5 separate regions of the Homo sapiens genome follow, and all the other regions are linked to region 5. Evidence: promoter capture Hi-C in 16 types of primary human blood cells and fetal thymus (Javierre and others, 2016). All regions are on one chromosome and are shown on one strand. The core of a region is centred on a gene start or on the middle of the fragment in contact, and the rest is flanking DNA. Distances in the headings are between cores, read along the strand shown. Region 1 overlaps MEF2C-AS1 (MEF2C antisense RNA 1). Region 2 overlaps MEF2C-AS1 (MEF2C antisense RNA 1). Region 3 overlaps LINC02161 (long intergenic non-protein coding RNA 2161). Region 4 overlaps MEF2C-AS1 (MEF2C antisense RNA 1). Region 5 holds the start of MEF2C (myocyte enhancer factor 2C).

Region 1 (3,227 bases), core at 59-2,558, 550 kb after region 5:
CATTACACCATAAAAGAGTGAAACACAGCTCTGTCAGTTTCATTTCGAGATTCTCCTTGAGGGAAGGAGGGAGAGAGAGAGAATAAGAACGACAGAAAGAGAAAATGAGAGCTCGATGAGACAAGAACAAACCTCAATTTGTCTAAACATCACATGAAAAGAAAACATTAAAAAGCTTGCCTGCATTTTTACAATGAAAACATGCATCCCACATTCAGTTGTCTTGATTAGCTCCAGTAAAATCTTGGTCTGACATTGCCTGTTACCCAGCATACACTTAAGCTACCTTACCTTGTTATTTATGTATTTAATCCTAACTACCTTTAATTATGACTCAAATATTTAGAATAAAAAACAAGAGGGTTGATCTTCTAAAAAAAAAAAAGTACTTCTTCCAGAAGCAAATATATGAGCTTTATCTTTACTGCTATAACCATTATATATAAAATAGTAGATGGTTGTCTATATTTAAGTGAGCTTGATAGGAAATATCTTTAACTTTTGGGGGTCATGGCCATAATATATCTAATTATTTTGTAAAGAGTGGACAAAAGGATTAGATTATTAATGTAAGAAATATGTTTTCAATCCTAATCACAATTTCAACTGGATGTATATCATTTGGCCGCTTCCAAAGGTAACTATCTAATACAACTTCTTGGCAGATATGTGGATCTACAAAATCCAGAAATGCTGAGGACAAGATTTCCCATAATATTCAATGTGCTACAAGTTCATTTTCTTACTAGAACTTTTCTTAACTGCTTGGGTTGATAGCTTAGATGTCCCAAATTACAATTGATACTAGAAACACAATATCAGAGATTCTTTCTCCACTCTGCCTTACTGTTTCCATTTTAAAAATAGTTGTATTACATTTCTGCTAATAAAAGCCTTTCTAAGGATTCTATATCATTCTTTTGCAAGGCACATTCACATCCTTCAATGAAAGTTGCTATTATCAGAGCAATGTAGTCTTACTATTTACTTATTACAACAGCCCTCATGACTGCTTACCCAGGCAAACACTAGAAATATCTAACTCATTACCACCACATAAAATAGCATGGGGTATTTTCAGAATGAAAGAGATCAGAGCATGACAAATTCTAAAGCTGTTTGTGTCCCTGTTTCTAAAGAAAAGGATGGCTATTAAACAAGCACTGGTAACTTTAACTGTCAAACAAAGAGGATAGATTAGACTCTCATTGAAAATATTGCCCAGCCAAAATCTTGTTGGAAATACCTGTTAGTTTATTACCTTTTTTTTTTTTTTTTTCATTTAAGGTCTCAACGTCAATGGATGTTTTTGGGCCATCTGATGAATGAAAACTGACCCAGATGGAGTCAGAAATCAAAAATGCCTATTGACTTATTCAGCTGGAAGTTGATCCTAGTTTCTATTTAAATCTACTGCTTAAGTGTCAGCATACAGGCTACATTCCTTATCATGGTTCAGGGGGCAGATATTTGGGTCAAAATATTTCTACTCACTCTGTAGCTAATGTGGGCTTTACAATGTTTACAAACAGCTGTTACAATAACCCAAAGATCCGAAGAAAAATGTGACACATTCAAGAATCTGACAGTTAAAAGCCAAGCATTTGTTCAGATAGCACCTTGTGGTTTGAGGTAATAAGACCCACGATCTTAATAGTATTTGTCACATTCAAGCAGCTGTATCCATGAGAGTAGAAGTGACTACCCTCTTACACACCCAGTTACTACTTTGAACCCAGGTCTATATTTTGGCTACCTTGGCAACAGCACAGCAATAACAACTGGTGCCATAATGGCGATGTCAATCCAAGGACATCTTTGGAGAAAGCAGAGGCCCTGACTTTCAACATAGAGAGGCAGAAAGAGCACATAAAATAAACTGAGAAGTTGGTGTCCATAGCACTGCTCATACACTGAGACTCTAGGATATTTATTATAATAGCGATGTTTTTACAAGCCCAGTAATTTTCTAATGGCTGGCTGTTCTTTTGTCAAAAAAACAAAAAGCCAGAAAACATTTCAGGGAAATGGGTCTCTGCAAGCAGGAGTCTACTTTTTTTCTATTTTTGTCTGAAATGAAACTATGAAGGATAAGCTATGCATTACCTTTGACCATATTAATCAATGTAGGTTTTCACACAATCATTAAGATGAAAGAGTTTGTAAACAACAATGAAAAGAGACAAAATTCATTGCTCAGCCTTCCCATGGAGGGTCTCTTATAATTGGTCACTATTACCTCTCCTTCTGGTCACATGGTCAAAATACATTTCCCTATCCTCAGGACATGAAACACACTTCGTGTCCTCATTACTTGCCTTGGTTAATGAAATGTGAGGAGAAGTGATAGGTGTCTCTTCAAGATGGAATATTTAAAAGGAAATTCGGTTTGCTATTGTTCCCTACCACTGTCAAGGCAACCAGCAGCATTCCAGATGATAGAAGCTTCATCAACCTGGAGTGAGAAGATGTAGAGCTGAGTTCCCAGCTGTCCTGGGATGAACACGTAATATGATCAATAAATATACATTTGTTGCACTTATCTACTGCAGTTTTGGAGGTGTTATCTCAGTATAACCTAGTCTATCCTGATTACACTGAGTGCATAATTTTTAGAAATCCAAAGAATGCCTTTCCTTAACTTTTCACAGAATCAGATGCTACAAAGAAGATAATGCTTCAAATCTCTTCACCAGAAAGAGATAGACTTTTTTTCTGGACTGGCTAGAGAGAAAGTATAGAATCATGAATTTATGGTTAAACTATGTTCTTCAGACAGAAACTCACATTTCCACTTTGACTAATTCAGATGAACTGTTTTACTGCCTGAGCTACTCAGAAAAATTGCTTTAATTTATTGTCTTGTAAAACAAACCAAAGTTTTATAAAATAATATTCAGACCCTTTTCATTTTCTTTTGTGTGTGTGTGTGTGTGTGTGTGTGTGTGTGTACCTTCACATCCCCTCTCTTTTCCCTACAGTCACTTTCTCTCCACTTTACTTATGTGGTATTCTCCTATCTGACAACAAGAGAAAGTGATTATTACTACTTTATATAACAGATTCTGGCAAAGTAATTGTGCTTCTGTTTCCACGGTAATTTAGGCTGTTTCTGCTGTAAATGGAAAGCAAAGTTACATGTCAGCCTTATGGAATCTTTGCTAGTGATATCAGTTCCTTTAGGTATTTCTAGACTCCAAAAACCACATGGACCATTTGTAATATAG
Region 2 (3,223 bases), core at 537-3,036, 570 kb after region 5:
TCTCTTATAAAAAAAAGCCATTACTGTTTTCAAAGTGTTATTTCTTCTAATGCAGATATTTACAGTAATGCAAACGAAATTATAATAACCTATTAGGTTTTTAGAGTAGAGAAGAATGATATAGCTGCCCATGTCATGTTATTCATATATTCAGAAAACTAAAGGCTGCTTCTTGGCTGGATGTGGTGTCTCACACCTGTAATCCCAGCACTTTGGGAGGCTGAGGCGGGTGGATCACTTGAGGCCAGAAGTTTGAGACCAGCCTGGCAAACATGGCAAAACCCCGTCTCTACTAAAAATATATTTTAAAAAATAGCTGAGTGTGGTGGCGCACACCTATAATCCCAGCTGCTGGGGAGTCTGAGGCAAGAAAATCACTTGAACCTGGGAGGCAGAGGTTGTAGTGAGCAGATATCATGCCACTGCACTCCAGCCTAGGTGACAGAGCAAGACTCTCTCTCAAAAACAAAGAAAAAAAAGAGAAAAGAAAACCAAAGGCAGCTTCCTCTAATCATTAACAGTATTATAATTATTTTAAGTACTCTCTTAAGAAATCACACATAATAGTAAAAGTATAGATTTTTTCATAGTAGTAAGTTAATGATTTTTATTCCAAAGATAGATATTTATCAAAATTTAACCTACATTACTTGAACAAGTATGTATTGATCTAGACAATAGTGGTAGAGAAGGAGGAAGGTATAGATAAGATATGGTTCTAGACACAAAGTTATTCCTAATCTATTGGAAGAGATAAGGAAGGGGTAACAGTAACTATAGTAGAAGGTGGTAAGACATTTAAATTTAAAAATGTGTGTGTGTGTGTGTGTGTGTCTGAACTGAAAGTTTTGGCAGGAAGAAACAGGGAAGACTTCAGGTGAGGTTGACATCTGTGTTGCTCTTTAAAGGAATGACTATTTCAACATATGGAAAAAGTGGGGAAACCTCTTGACCATGTGAAGGCAGTGGCATCACCACTGTGTTATTAACCAAGTTCATTCAAGAATGATAAGCAGACCAGACACAGTGGCTCATGTCTGTAATCCAAGTGCTTTGGGAGGCTGAAGCACAAGGTTGGCTTGAGGCCAGGAGTTTGAGACCAACCTGGGCAACACAGTGAGACCACATCTCTAAAAAAGGAAAATGATAAGTAGGATTTGGCGGGAAAAGTGCAGGGTATTTGGAGAGAACTTGCAGGTTGTGTATCACAAAAGTTAGGCACTTCCTGATTTGTAGCGGGCCTTGAAAGCCTTAGGTTTTGTTTTATAGGCAGTAAGAACTCATTAAGGTGAATGAAGATAGAAGAAAATGAGTGGCTTGCAATAATGAACTGGGAGACAGAAATGAGCAGTCAAGAGAGAATCATGTAGGGAGAGAATACAATAATGTGGATAAACCAAAATGAAAGTCTGAATAAAAGAATGCCAATAGAAAGGAAATGGAGCCATTAGGTGCATGAGAAATTCCAGAAAAAAATTCAGAGATTATGAAGACTATTAAATATATGTCCATGGGGGGAATGTACGGACACAAAAGGGATTTGAGACTGGACTGCTAGAAGAGTGATAAAACTACTAACATAAAACACACATGGGGATGGTAAGAAAAGAAGACAAATATGGTGAAAACAACTTTATGCACATTATTTAGAGCCATCCAAATGACACTGGAAAAGGAACTCAGCTACAGCAGTGTGACTGTGATATGGTAGAGTAGGAGAAGCCTGAGCTTTTTTTATACCGGAAGAAGTAGTATAAAACGAAAGTGTTAAATGAAATGAAAGGCCAGGTAATAAATCAACTAGAGAATGATATCAAAGATAATTATATTTATCATTGAAATATTCTTTCTGTCACCAATTAAAAACCTCTTCATGCCTTCCTCTCCCAGCCCTGACCTTCTCCCAGGCTTGAGATCTTGATTATGATCTGAACTGTGAAGTTAGAATGAAGAATTAGTTGGTTGTTATCTTCATAGAGGTGAAAGTAAGACTTTCGGAAGTGGATGGTATCAGGAAATGCAGTGAGAATAGGGAAGATAAAGGAAAGAGCCTTAGAGGAATGCCTAGATTTAGGTTTGTAATAGAAGCAAGAGAAATAGAGAAAGCAAAGGGAGAGACATTGGAAGAGAATCTAGAGAGAAAGTGTCAGGAAAATTGACTTTTCTGGAAGGAGGAAAAGAGAAGTGGTCAAGAAATCCCATATGCTTTGGTGAGATTCATGCAGATAGTAATGAGAGGAAGCAACCAGAGAAGAAATATTATAAGATGTTTGACTCAAAGGCAAGATTTTCAGATGTTGCAGGGAGATGTAGGGACTGTCCTGATTAAGGCTGAGTAGGACAAGGTAAATACTAGGTAGGGAATGAGGCAATGGGTGGATAGGACAAAAGTGGCGAAAAAGAGAGAGAGAAAAAAAGAAAGAATGAAAGAAAGAAAGAAAGCAAACAGTGGGGAGACAGGGTCAAAATTTGTGTGGAATTTGTAATCATGCATAAAAGTTGATTGAAGAGGTTATGTGGAAGAACTTTTTAGGAATAAAGAAGAATTTGGTTAAAATAATGTGTAGAGGGCCTGGTGCAGTGGCTCACGCCTGTAATTCCAGCACTTTGGGAGACTGATGCCGGTGGATCACCTGAGGTCAGGAGTTCAAGACCAGTCTCACCAAAATGGTAAAACCCCCGTCTCTACTAAAAATACAAAAATTAGCTATACATAATTGTGGGTGCCTGTAATCCCAGCTACTTGGGAGGCTGAGGAAGGAGAATCACTTGAACCCAGGAGGCGGAGGTTGCAGTGAGCTGAGATCATGCCATTGCACTCCAGCCTGGGTGACAAGAGTGAAACTGCATCTCAAAATAGTAATAATAATAATAATAATATAGAGAGCTAATCATCCCCAAAGTTGCAGTTGTAATGTCAAAATGTCTGACAACTTGAAATCTTGGTCATCAAGGTTTATTGGTTCTACTGAAAACCTTGCCATTAAGCTGATGATATTAGGTCACAGATTTTGAGACAACAGTCTGATATAGACTGAACTGTATCCTGCCAAAATGTATATGTTGAAGTTCTTACCCCCAATATGATTATATTTCCAGTTGGGGCCATTGTAAGGTAACTAGGTGCAGATGAGGTCATAAGGGTTGAGTCCTCATAGTGGATTAGTGCCCTTATAAGAAAAGACATCAGACAACTAACTCTCCTTCTGCCATGAGGGGATGC
Region 3 (3,301 bases), core at 164-2,663, 840 kb after region 5:
ATTTAGATTAGATGAATTGAATTCAGATATTACTTGCATCCTCCATGAGATCAGATTATGCATATAACAGGTCACAGAAGCTATAATGAACAAGAGCTTATTACCTATTTGATTAATTCTATAGCCATCATGAAAATGTCTTAGGATATCTTTGGATTAAAGAGAAAATCTGTTAACAAATTGGGCACAGGAAAATAAAACAAAAAAATTACTGGAATTATCATGAGTATATGGATCAAGTGAGGTGAAATTCAGAGAGAAGATAAATTTATTTTCAACAGCTGACTCGAGGAAGAGCGAGTTGGTTGATGGGGAGAAATAATTCCATAGAGCCACCTACTGTGGGAGAATATTAAATATCTATGATAATTGTGATACCAATAACTTTCAAAAGAAAGGAATGATATTTATATTACTATAGTCGCTTCTGTGAAACATTTGGATAATTTTAGTTCAAGGTTTTAATCTTTCTAATTTTCATAGCTTTCATAGTTGCAGTGCCCTGTCATGTTCGAGAAAGAGTGCTTATTCATAAGAAGCTGAATCTTCATTCTTTAGTCATTAGTAAAAATGGGTCATAGATCATGTCATGTTGTCTATAACCTAGTTATAATTCTGGCAGGAGGGAATTTTCAAAATCATGATTTCATATAGAAACCTTTAAAAACTCATTAGCTTCTGATAATTATACTAATATCTAAAGCATTAAAATCATGGAGCTAATTTCGGCAAAAGATCAGCAGCGAACGTGTTCTGGGGGAAGTTTTCTCTTTCAACTTCCTGGGAACAAAATAGAAGGCAGTTCAGGGCTCTAACATAACACCCTATTTCAGATGCAGAAGAGACAGAATTTCACGGAAGCATCGCATCGTGAGTTAGCGGATTCTAAAATGAAAAGCAAGAATATTAGAGCAACATCTCTAAATGTGACTCTGGGCACTGGAGAAGCCTCTCCACTTGTGATTGATTTGCATTTCTGCCTATGTCTGAATTCATATTCCATAAGCACAGATGGAGGTGTGATAGATTTTTTTTTGAGCACATCTATTTATTCAGATACCGGATTCAGTCTCTGAGTAGGGAGATGGTAAAGGCTGCTGTGAGCAGATGGCACATAGGCACTATGACTTTAGAAACAACATTCTTTAAAGAGAAGTGGCACCGTAATAATAATAATACTTAGCACATATATTGCACCTTTGGTCTGCCAACATTAACTAATTAATCTTCAGTAGACCCCTGTGAGATAAGTAAGTGCTTATAATCATCTCTATTATGCAGTCAAGTCAACTAAGAATGTGTCTGCACATACTGTGGAAGAATTGGCCCAAGTTAAAGACCGGGTGGATCCAATTTGCATGGCTCTTTAAGATTTCTGCTCTAGTAGCAGAGACTAGTATTTCTAGACACCCTGCTGTTTGAGGCACCAAGTAGTTTTGAAGCAGGCTATCAACCCAAGACATATTTCATTCAGAAGGTTTGTGCTGCAAGGGTCTAAAACAGGCCTAAGAAAAAGTTGAGTCATTTTTTTAAAGCCCAAAGGCCATGCCTGGCCAGAAGCAGGTGTGAAATTACAGAACCTCTGCCTGCTTTTCCTATTTGAAGAAGGCAATTTGCACATATCTTTAAAGGATATTTTTTAAAGTGTTGAACAACATTAAGAGTTCAGGGAAGTCTGGAGTTTTCCCTTAGTATTTGCTGCACCTGGGGCTTTTCCACTGAAGTTGGTTAAGTATGACCTATGGCTTTGACCAGAAATATTAATAACCCACATCAGAATGAAGGGCTGGTGAACTGCTTTATTATGGCATCTAATGGCTTAGATTCTGATGTTTTGATCCTTCTAACATAAAGGAGCGAAAATGTCAGTCTTGAGGATCTGAAATTTGGCATCTGCCATGATACCCAGAGATCCCTGCCTCAACTGAGAAATATGTAGCACAAAAACCTTTGTAAAATTGGGAGTATTAATACCCCACACACAAACTAATTATGAAGACTGAAGTAGAAAATATATGGTAGTGTCTTTCCATACGTGACACATGATAGATAAGTAGTAATACTTCAATCCCAAGCTACCTTTTGTTAGCAGCATAATCCTGGACAACTCACAACCTTTGAGACTCAGTTTACTCATCTATTAAATTGGGGTTAATTCTACCAACCACAAATAACTTAAAGAATCTACAGCAATGTCTATTCCTCTCAAAAGGGTAAGGGGTTTTTTATGACTATTTTAAAATCTTTTTGTTTTCTATTATAATATCTATTAGAACATGCTTTGCATCTGAAGTCACTAAACTTTACTTTTTAACCTTGGGAGGTGATCATCTTTGATCTTCTACTTTCCTCTTTTCCATTTTAAATCTGCTCTTGTTTTTGCAAGGGATCTCAAACTCAAATGTCTTGAAGGACAAGGGAGATAGCACTAAAATATAGAACTGCTAAATATATGACAATGGTCAGTGATGATGCTTAGAGGCAAACTATTGACAGCATGCCCTGATTGTAGCCATACAAATTGAAAGTCATTTTTAATACAAATCACATTTGGGGTACAAGTATTTTTCTTGGGTTATGAAAGAGATTTTCCTCCTGACATACCTAGCTCTTCTGTTCCCTTTGATCAGAGTGCTCTCTTCGTTCACCTCGAATGTCAAAGTCCTTCCATTTAAAAAAGTCCACGTTACATCCAAGCTCTCCCATGAAGTCATTCCTGACCTCCACAGTTCATGATGATCTCTTCTTACCCTGAATTCACAAGTTTTATCTTCTGAACACCTAATTTGGCATTGATGAATGCCATGTGGTACCTATATTTTTAACCCACCATAAATAAGTACAATAACTAATAAATATTAGTTATTATAATTGTCATAATATCTTCATCCTCAAGTAGATTTTTTTCCTACTCTGCCTGGCCCAGAGAAATGATCATAGAGATATCTTACATATTTATAACAATGTACGGTTTGCCAAATGGTGGGGCAACACTTAGTCTTCATCAAATACTTACATGGTAGTATTAGCCGTCTATAATGGAGGAAGAAATTAAGGTTCAGAAAAGCATAGCAAATTCAACAAGGACACACAGCTAGAATGTAAACCATCAGGAAACAGAGAGCTTCTAATTCCAAGACCAGTCTAGAAGAAGAATTCATCAATGATGGCAAATGTGCTGATCAGCAGCCTTCTCTAATGTAATCCCTAAACTAGGCTTTTTCCTTCTCTGAATCATACAAGCTTTAATATATATGAATCAGTCAGTAAATTATTAATAAGTCATGTCTTCTAGTTAGAT
Region 4 (3,298 bases), core at 773-3,272, 510 kb after region 5:
TCTGGGTCTCTTCTCTATCTTTTCCCTGGGTGATCTACCACCTCACCAACTATGTACACACTGAGCTGTTACATATATGTATCTTCAAAACTATATATCTTTCTGCCTGCTGGAAATCTTCAACATGTCTAAAGTTGAATATCCAAAATCAACATTCCCCAAAGTGAATACCAGAGTTTTTCTGTCATACACACTCACTTTCTTATGTTCTCTATCTCAGAAAGGACACCTTCACCCAAACCAGAAATCTTGCTTTCATCCCAGTTACCTTCCTCTCTCTACTTAATTCCTTCTCCCATATCCTATTAGTCATCAAACTTTAATCCCCCTAAACATATTCTTTCTCCTTATAGACCATCAGTTCTCACTAGATTTTGACAGTGGTTTCCTGATTTATCTCATCTGCTCTTCCCACAGACCCTACCAATCCACCCTCCATATAGTGTGAAAATCATCTTTTAACAGGCAAATCTGATCATGTTAACTCTCAAAGGGCTATGGGGACCATCCCATTACTGATGTCACTGCAACATGTAGTGATTAGATAATTTAGTGACTTAGGGATGTGAAGCTTCTCCCCTTCCTATCTAGTACTGTAGATCATACCATATGTGAAGTTCTAACACAAAACAGGAGTGAAATTATCAGGATAGAAGGCATTCCTACAATGTGTGTTTTGGTTTAAGGATGAAAACTAGATGCTGCCTTTTCTATTTAGTGGAAGGAAACAGTTGAGGCTTTCTTGAGTCAGCAGTTGTGCAATATTATCCTGATAATTTTAGGCCCTGGTTTCTACAACTTTATATAAAGCTGTAGTTTGCAAATCATCACTTCACCAATAAACTGCCAATTTATGTAGCTTCACATTGCCTAGTAACTTCAACATAATTCCTGGAAGAAGGAGGACTGGGGCCTCTTTTACCTAACATGCTCTGTTTTCATTGAAGAGCTGAGCATGTAGAAGGTAAATGTGCTGAGGGACAGTCCTCCAAAACCCGGTTTTCTAACGTGAAGCTGTTATCAGCAACAGAACCAAGCAGAGGAAGCATGTTTACAAGATCACAGCAACATCCCAGTCCCCAGTCAGGCCTTTGTGGTTTCAAAAAGCTGCAAATTCTGTCAACAGCAAAGTCTGCATATCCTGTTCCTGTTTTACCATGGCCTTCTAGTTTATTTCCCAACTCCAGCATCCATCAATGTTTTATTCCAGTGACTATCAAAAGTGAAAGTCAAATGTTCTGTACTTTACTCTCTGACATGTGAATTTCAATCCAACTACTTCTAATTCCTTAGACACACTTCAGTCTTGACTGCTCCTTTGCTCTCACCCTTTCCCCTGATCTTGTGAATTCATTTTTCTATGCCATCAAACACTTTTCAATTAATATGCCTTTATAGGAACTTCGTTCTATGTCTTGATTTAATCATTTTCTTCACAACTCTTCACTAAACTTATAGGAAAAGAGGACTAGACAGTGCACCTTTTTTCTTCTTATTGACAATTCTATACTCTTCCCTCCATTTCTGAGTCTCTTATGTTCCTCATTTGCCTTATGGTTTCACTTGCCACCTATGCCCCAGAGACCCAATAGCCAGATATGTGTAATGTTATGAATCACCCTCTAGATTCCCATGAATGACATACTTCCTGATTTGGATCTGTAAATACATCTATGCCTATATATGCTCTATATTTCTAAAATAAATTAAGTTTATAATATAAACATGATTGTTTTTACAAAAATTGATGTGTGTAACCTTTATCTCCTTTGTTATTATTTTACCTCATCTCCAGGTATGAGCTTGTTGCTGACATTCACTTCCAACCTCTAATACCACAGTTTGCTCTGTACCTAACATTTACCTTCTCCTTGGAGTAAGAGTGAAATTTTAGCTAGTGGTCATTTGGGAGTGGGATAAGGCAAATGCGATGAATGGGACAGAGCCTAAGAATTAAATCTCAGAGATGGGGTGGAGATCAAAGACATAATGAGTGTCAGAATTAGTTCAAGCCTTAAGAAATTGTTGAAGGTTAATAATGGAGTTAACTTCAAGGAAGAACTGAAGCTCAGTGATGAGGTAAATATCTGAAATGTTGAACATATTACTCAATACAAGAACTATGAAAGTTTATTTATTTTTGCTTTTTATCTAACTATGAAATGCTTATACCCGAACATGGTTTCTTTAGTCCTTTCTACTTTAAGTACCTCACCATTACATTTCTGTAATGCCACTATTTCAATCTCCCTGGTCTTTTTTTTTTTTAAAAAAAGAAAAGTCTAATTTTTATACAAAGGAATTGCATATGCCTAATGCATGTTTGATGAGTTGGGACATATTTATGTACCTGTGATACTATCACTGCAATCAAGATAATAAACATATTCAACACTTCCAAGTTTCCTTATGCATCCCACTCCTTTTGTTGTAAGAACATTTAATATGAAATCCACCTTTGTAACAAATTTTTAAGTGTATCATATCCTGTTGTTAACTATAGGCACTACGTTGTACAGCAGACCTATAGAACATATTTGCCTTTCATAACTGAAATTTTATAACCATTGACCAACAATTCCCCATTTCTGTTCCTCCAAGTCCCTTAGAAACCACTATTCTGTTCTCCATGTGTTGGACTATTTTAGATATCTCATATAAGTAGAATAGTAGAGTATTTGTGTTTATGACACTGACTTATTTTAATTAGCTTAGTATCTTCCAGGTTTATCCATGTTGTTGCAAATGTTAAGATTTCCTTTTGTTTTTGTAAGGCCAAACAATATTCCATTGAATATATATTCCACATTTTACTTTATGCATTCATTTGTTTATAGACATGAGAGTTGTTTCCATATCTTGGTTTTATGAAAAATGCTGCACTAAACATGGAATTACAGTATCTCTTTGAGATCCTGATTTCATTTTTTTGGATATGTATGCAGAAGTGGGATTGTTGGATTATAAAGTCTCTCTATTTTTAGTTTTTTGAGGAATTTTCATGCTATTTTCCATAATGGTTTTACCACTTTACATTTTCACCAAGAATGCAACATTATATTGAGGTCATGAACATGTGTGTATATACAAATGCATGAATAAATGAATATCTTTTCTGCCCCCTGATTACCATTTCTTTGTGGACCAGAGATATTTTATAAATACCACAAAAAGTTGTCCTATTCCCAGTTAGTTGATGCCCTTGTATTGGAACTTCCAGTTCCAGTATTACAATTGTAGACTATGGGAGTCAGTCAGCACTATGGTGGAGGTTTTTTGGTTCTAGCCCCACCACTTA
Region 5 (3,376 bases), core at 412-2,911:
GATGTTTTAGTTTCAAATTAGAGATTGTTGATCTATTTAAAGCTAAAATTGGTATGCAATACGAGGTTAAACGGGGTTCACAGGTGGTCACATTTCCATGTCCTACCAAGTCTCTAGGGATTGGAGTTATTATACTCCACATAAACATCTTTACTCTGCAACCACAATTCCATTGCAAGGTGCCAGTGAAAGTAGGCTAGTCGCTTTTTTTTTTTTTGGACTGGTATAATGAGGTGGCTGGAGTTTCCTTTATAGCACTTAGAAATTATATGCAGTCCCCAAGCATTTCATAAGACAGTTACTATTAGAGTTAGTTTCAGATTCACAATAGTAAAACGCACTTTGTGTCAAAGCAATTCTCCACTGAGGACCGGTTAAGGAACTGGCAGAGAGCCCAATTCTACTTAGTCTACTGTCAGCATTTACATATAAAGTATTTTATACAAAAGACACGCATTCCTAAAATGTGACAAAAAAAGGCTCTCCCCAAAGAATGATAACTACTGGACTTAGAATAGTCAGAAGTGATTCAGATATAAAATTTCCTTTAAAAAGCAATAGCCATGTTCAGGGAAGGAAGGTAACATTAGCATTAAATTTAAATACTTCCACAATATTTAATAATAAAATAAACAATGTGCCACATCTATATATACTTCCTTTGTGACAAACTTTATCATCGAGTTTGGTAACTTTCATTCCAAGTCCAAAGAGAAGGCAATTTAAGTGACTTAACCTTGCTTGCTTTTAAACAGCTATGTATTTGACTTGACCTGAACAGCAATCCATATGCTGAAATCGAACGTGAATTGTGAAATGTGTAGACTACTATGGCAGGGATATTACTTTTTGTCCACACCAATTAAGAAGCCCTCTGTCAAGCCGGCACTTTGGTGAGGGAAGGAAATGCACAAAGGTATACTCTGACAGACAGCCATGCTTTAGGTCAAACTAATCCCAAGAATTAGTGGCTCAGAAGCATAACCCAGGGCAAATCAGTGTCTTTGGGGGGACTCATGGGAGCATCTTTCCACAGTGAACTAACTGCTAAATCTTAAGGCGTCTACTTCAAGGTCACAGAACATGCTGTGAAATATTAAAATCCACCAGGCTCCACACGCTCCACCATATCAAACATGCTAATGACGTGAACTAACTTCATGAAACTTTAAATACACTGGTGTGACAGGAACGAGTCAGGAGTGATTTCAATAGCTGATGGCAAACGGATACGACTATCTAAAAAGTTACTTTTAGCAACAAACAAGGAAATCATGGAATCTAACGAAAAAGAATGCACAACGAGCCTCAACTTCAGCCTTCAAAAAAGGCACAGGGATAGATAGACACAGTGCCGTGGAATATATTGATGCAGATTTTAGAGACAATACCCGGGTTTTCTATTTCCTCGAGAAATATCAGGGGTACTTACATGAAGGAAGACCCGATCAGATTAGTCCTTGGGATATTTTCCTTTCTTAAGAGAGAGAGAGAGAGAAAAAAAAAATAACAACAATAATCTTTACTTCGTCCAGCGTTGAAGTGCTTCTCCACCTGATTCAAACATGCAGCCACGGCGACCCACACAGAACCTTCAAAGTCAATCCAATAGCAGCCCGAAGATGTCTGGGTGTACGCGTGTGCTCAAGTGTCTGTGACTGCGAGCAGAGCGAGCAGAGAGCTGGAGACGATGTGTGCGTGTGTGCGCGCGCGCGAGGGGAGCGCGCGCGAGGGGGGGGGCGCGGGGCCGCGCATTCGCGCGCGCCGAGGCCGCTCGGAAGAGGAGGAGGAGGAGGAAGAAGGAGGAGGAAGAGAAGGAGGAGGAGGAGGAGGAGGAGAAAGTGGCTCTCAGCGGCCGGTCGGATTAAAAGTAACCAGACTCGTCCAGAAAACTGCGTCCAGGAAGGAAGTGACAGAAGACGAATGGGAAAAGGAGAACAGCTCACAGCGTTTGAAACATCGCGTAAAAAAGACTGGGGGTGGTGGGGGCGGGGGGGATTGAAGGATACTGGGAGGGGAGGCGGGGGTGGTAGGGAAGACGGAGCACGAATGGTTGGGGTTCTAAGCAGCACGTCCGATGAAATGTCTTTTGCCTCCTTTTTTCCCCCTTTATTTAATTTTGTCCTTGCCTTTGCTTCGCGCTGCCTTTTTCTCTCCGTCTCTCTCTCCCCCACAATCCCAAACCGTTGACTCTTTCCTCGCGAGCTGGAGAAATCATCAGTTTCACTCTTGCAAAAGGGGGGCGGGACTAGACCTCGGAGCATTTTAATAAAACAAACATACAGCAGCTCCCTCCTCACCCCTCCAGTCTCAACTAGATTGATAAATTACTCCACTACACTACTTTAATTATGTATATGGTATGCAGAATAAATCACTGAACATCAGTACCTCAATCAAGCACTTTTAAATGATAATTGCATCTTGGTGAATCAATCTTTCCATTCCTGACATTTTGCTAATTTTAGTTTTACGGTGGGGTAATAGCACATGCCATACGCAAACCTAATGACAATTCTTTATTGCACGAAATGAAGACAACACGGCGAGCTGCGGCTCCCTGCTCCTCTCGCGGCGCCTCTGCGGAGGACGCTCGGAGAGAACCTAGTCTCCCGCTGCGGCGCGCTCGCTTGCTCTCCGGGGACGCTGCGAGCCAGCCAGCAGGAAAGTCCTTCTAAAGTCGGGATCTTTCCTCTGACCAATAGGAGCGCGACCCTAATAGTTGCTCTTGTGACTTTTCCCCCTTTTGGACACGCGTTAGCCACTTCTCTCTTCCACCGGTCGGTGCGCTCCTCCGTTACTCACGCGTAAAAACCACGGTCCAGGATGTCTGCAGCACTCGATTCCAGCGTGCTTTTCCTGCACGCCCAGAAGTCGCGGTTTTCACCCTGAGAGGTTGGAGCGCTAGAAAGCGAGCCGAAAGGTTTCTCTAATGTTAGTAATGTACGAAATAATAAAATAATTACCAGTATTTGAGATCTCGACTTCATCGCGGGGCCATGAACTTTCTAATCAGTTTGGAAATATTTACCGAGGAAGCAGCTTCCTCGGAGTTCCCCCCCTCCCCCCACTCTATCTTTTCCACACCTTACTGGACTTCATCCAGGTCATTAACATGTAAACCAAACCAACTTCCCAAATGCATTAGGCTACCCTAGCCGATAGCTGATGACTTCACTTATCCTGAAGAGTTTCAGCTGCACAGGAAGCAGAAATAGAGACTGATAAGGGAGGATACTTATGTTAAGGTTAAAGCATGATAAACACTTTTCCTTACAAAAAAAAAAAAAAAAGGCTTTAATATTTAGGCTACTAGAGATTGGGCACCTCCCGCCCTAACCAACTGTTAATATATACCATGCCCAATAAAGCCAAA

What was found. Contacts are between HindIII fragments. The CHiCAGO score rates a contact against its expected background, and 5 or more counts as called.
Region 1: a fragment that was not itself captured here is called in contact with the fragment with the promoter of MEF2C in region 5 in 1 of 17 cell types (total B cells); the score reaches 6.0 in total B cells.
Region 2: a contact is called between a fragment that was not itself captured here and the fragment with the promoter of MEF2C in region 5, in 1 of 17 cell types (megakaryocytes). The highest score is 6.6, in megakaryocytes.
Region 3: a contact is called between a fragment that was not itself captured here and the fragment with the promoter of MEF2C in region 5, in 1 of 17 cell types (neutrophils). The highest score is 5.7, in neutrophils.
Region 4: a contact is called between a fragment that was not itself captured here and the fragment with the promoter of MEF2C in region 5, in 4 of 17 cell types (megakaryocytes, M0 macrophages, M2 macrophages and 1 more). The highest score is 7.3, in megakaryocytes.

What each region holds. Positions count from the first base shown.
Region 1 is chr5:89,436,602-89,439,828 of GRCh38, forward strand. All of the region lies in intron 8 of MEF2C-AS1 (MEF2C antisense RNA 1), which reads left to right. Among named protein-coding and RNA genes, the nearest start is that of LINC02161, 140 kb to the right of the region's middle. The HindIII fragment of the contact is 2,270 bases long and covers 174-2,443 here.
Region 2 is chr5:89,452,877-89,456,099 of GRCh38, forward strand. The region is part of intron 8 of MEF2C-AS1 (MEF2C antisense RNA 1); the gene reads left to right. Among named protein-coding and RNA genes, the nearest start is that of LINC02161, 130 kb to the right of the region's middle. The HindIII fragment of the contact is 3,925 bases long and covers 1-3,223 here.
Region 3 is chr5:89,723,580-89,726,880 of GRCh38, forward strand. The region is part of intron 1 of LINC02161 (long intergenic non-protein coding RNA 2161); the gene reads left to right. Among named protein-coding and RNA genes, the nearest start is that of LINC02161, 140 kb to the left of the region's middle. The HindIII fragment of the contact is 3,655 bases long and covers 1-3,241 here.
Region 4 is chr5:89,395,704-89,399,001 of GRCh38, forward strand. All of the region lies in intron 8 of MEF2C-AS1 (MEF2C antisense RNA 1), which reads left to right. Among named protein-coding and RNA genes, the nearest start is that of LINC02161, 180 kb to the right of the region's middle. The HindIII fragment of the contact is 2,907 bases long and covers 570-3,298 here.
Region 5 is chr5:88,881,523-88,884,898 of GRCh38, forward strand. It overlaps MEF2C (myocyte enhancer factor 2C), which reads right to left and starts at 1,662. Exons shown (of 11, transcript NM_002397.5): 1 at 1,433-1,662. MEF2C-AS1 (MEF2C antisense RNA 1) reads left to right here and starts at 1,808. Exons shown (of 10, transcript NR_136219.1): 1 at 1,808-1,963. RefSeq lists an enhancer at 2,720-2,769. The HindIII fragment of the contact is 10,727 bases long and covers 1-3,376 here.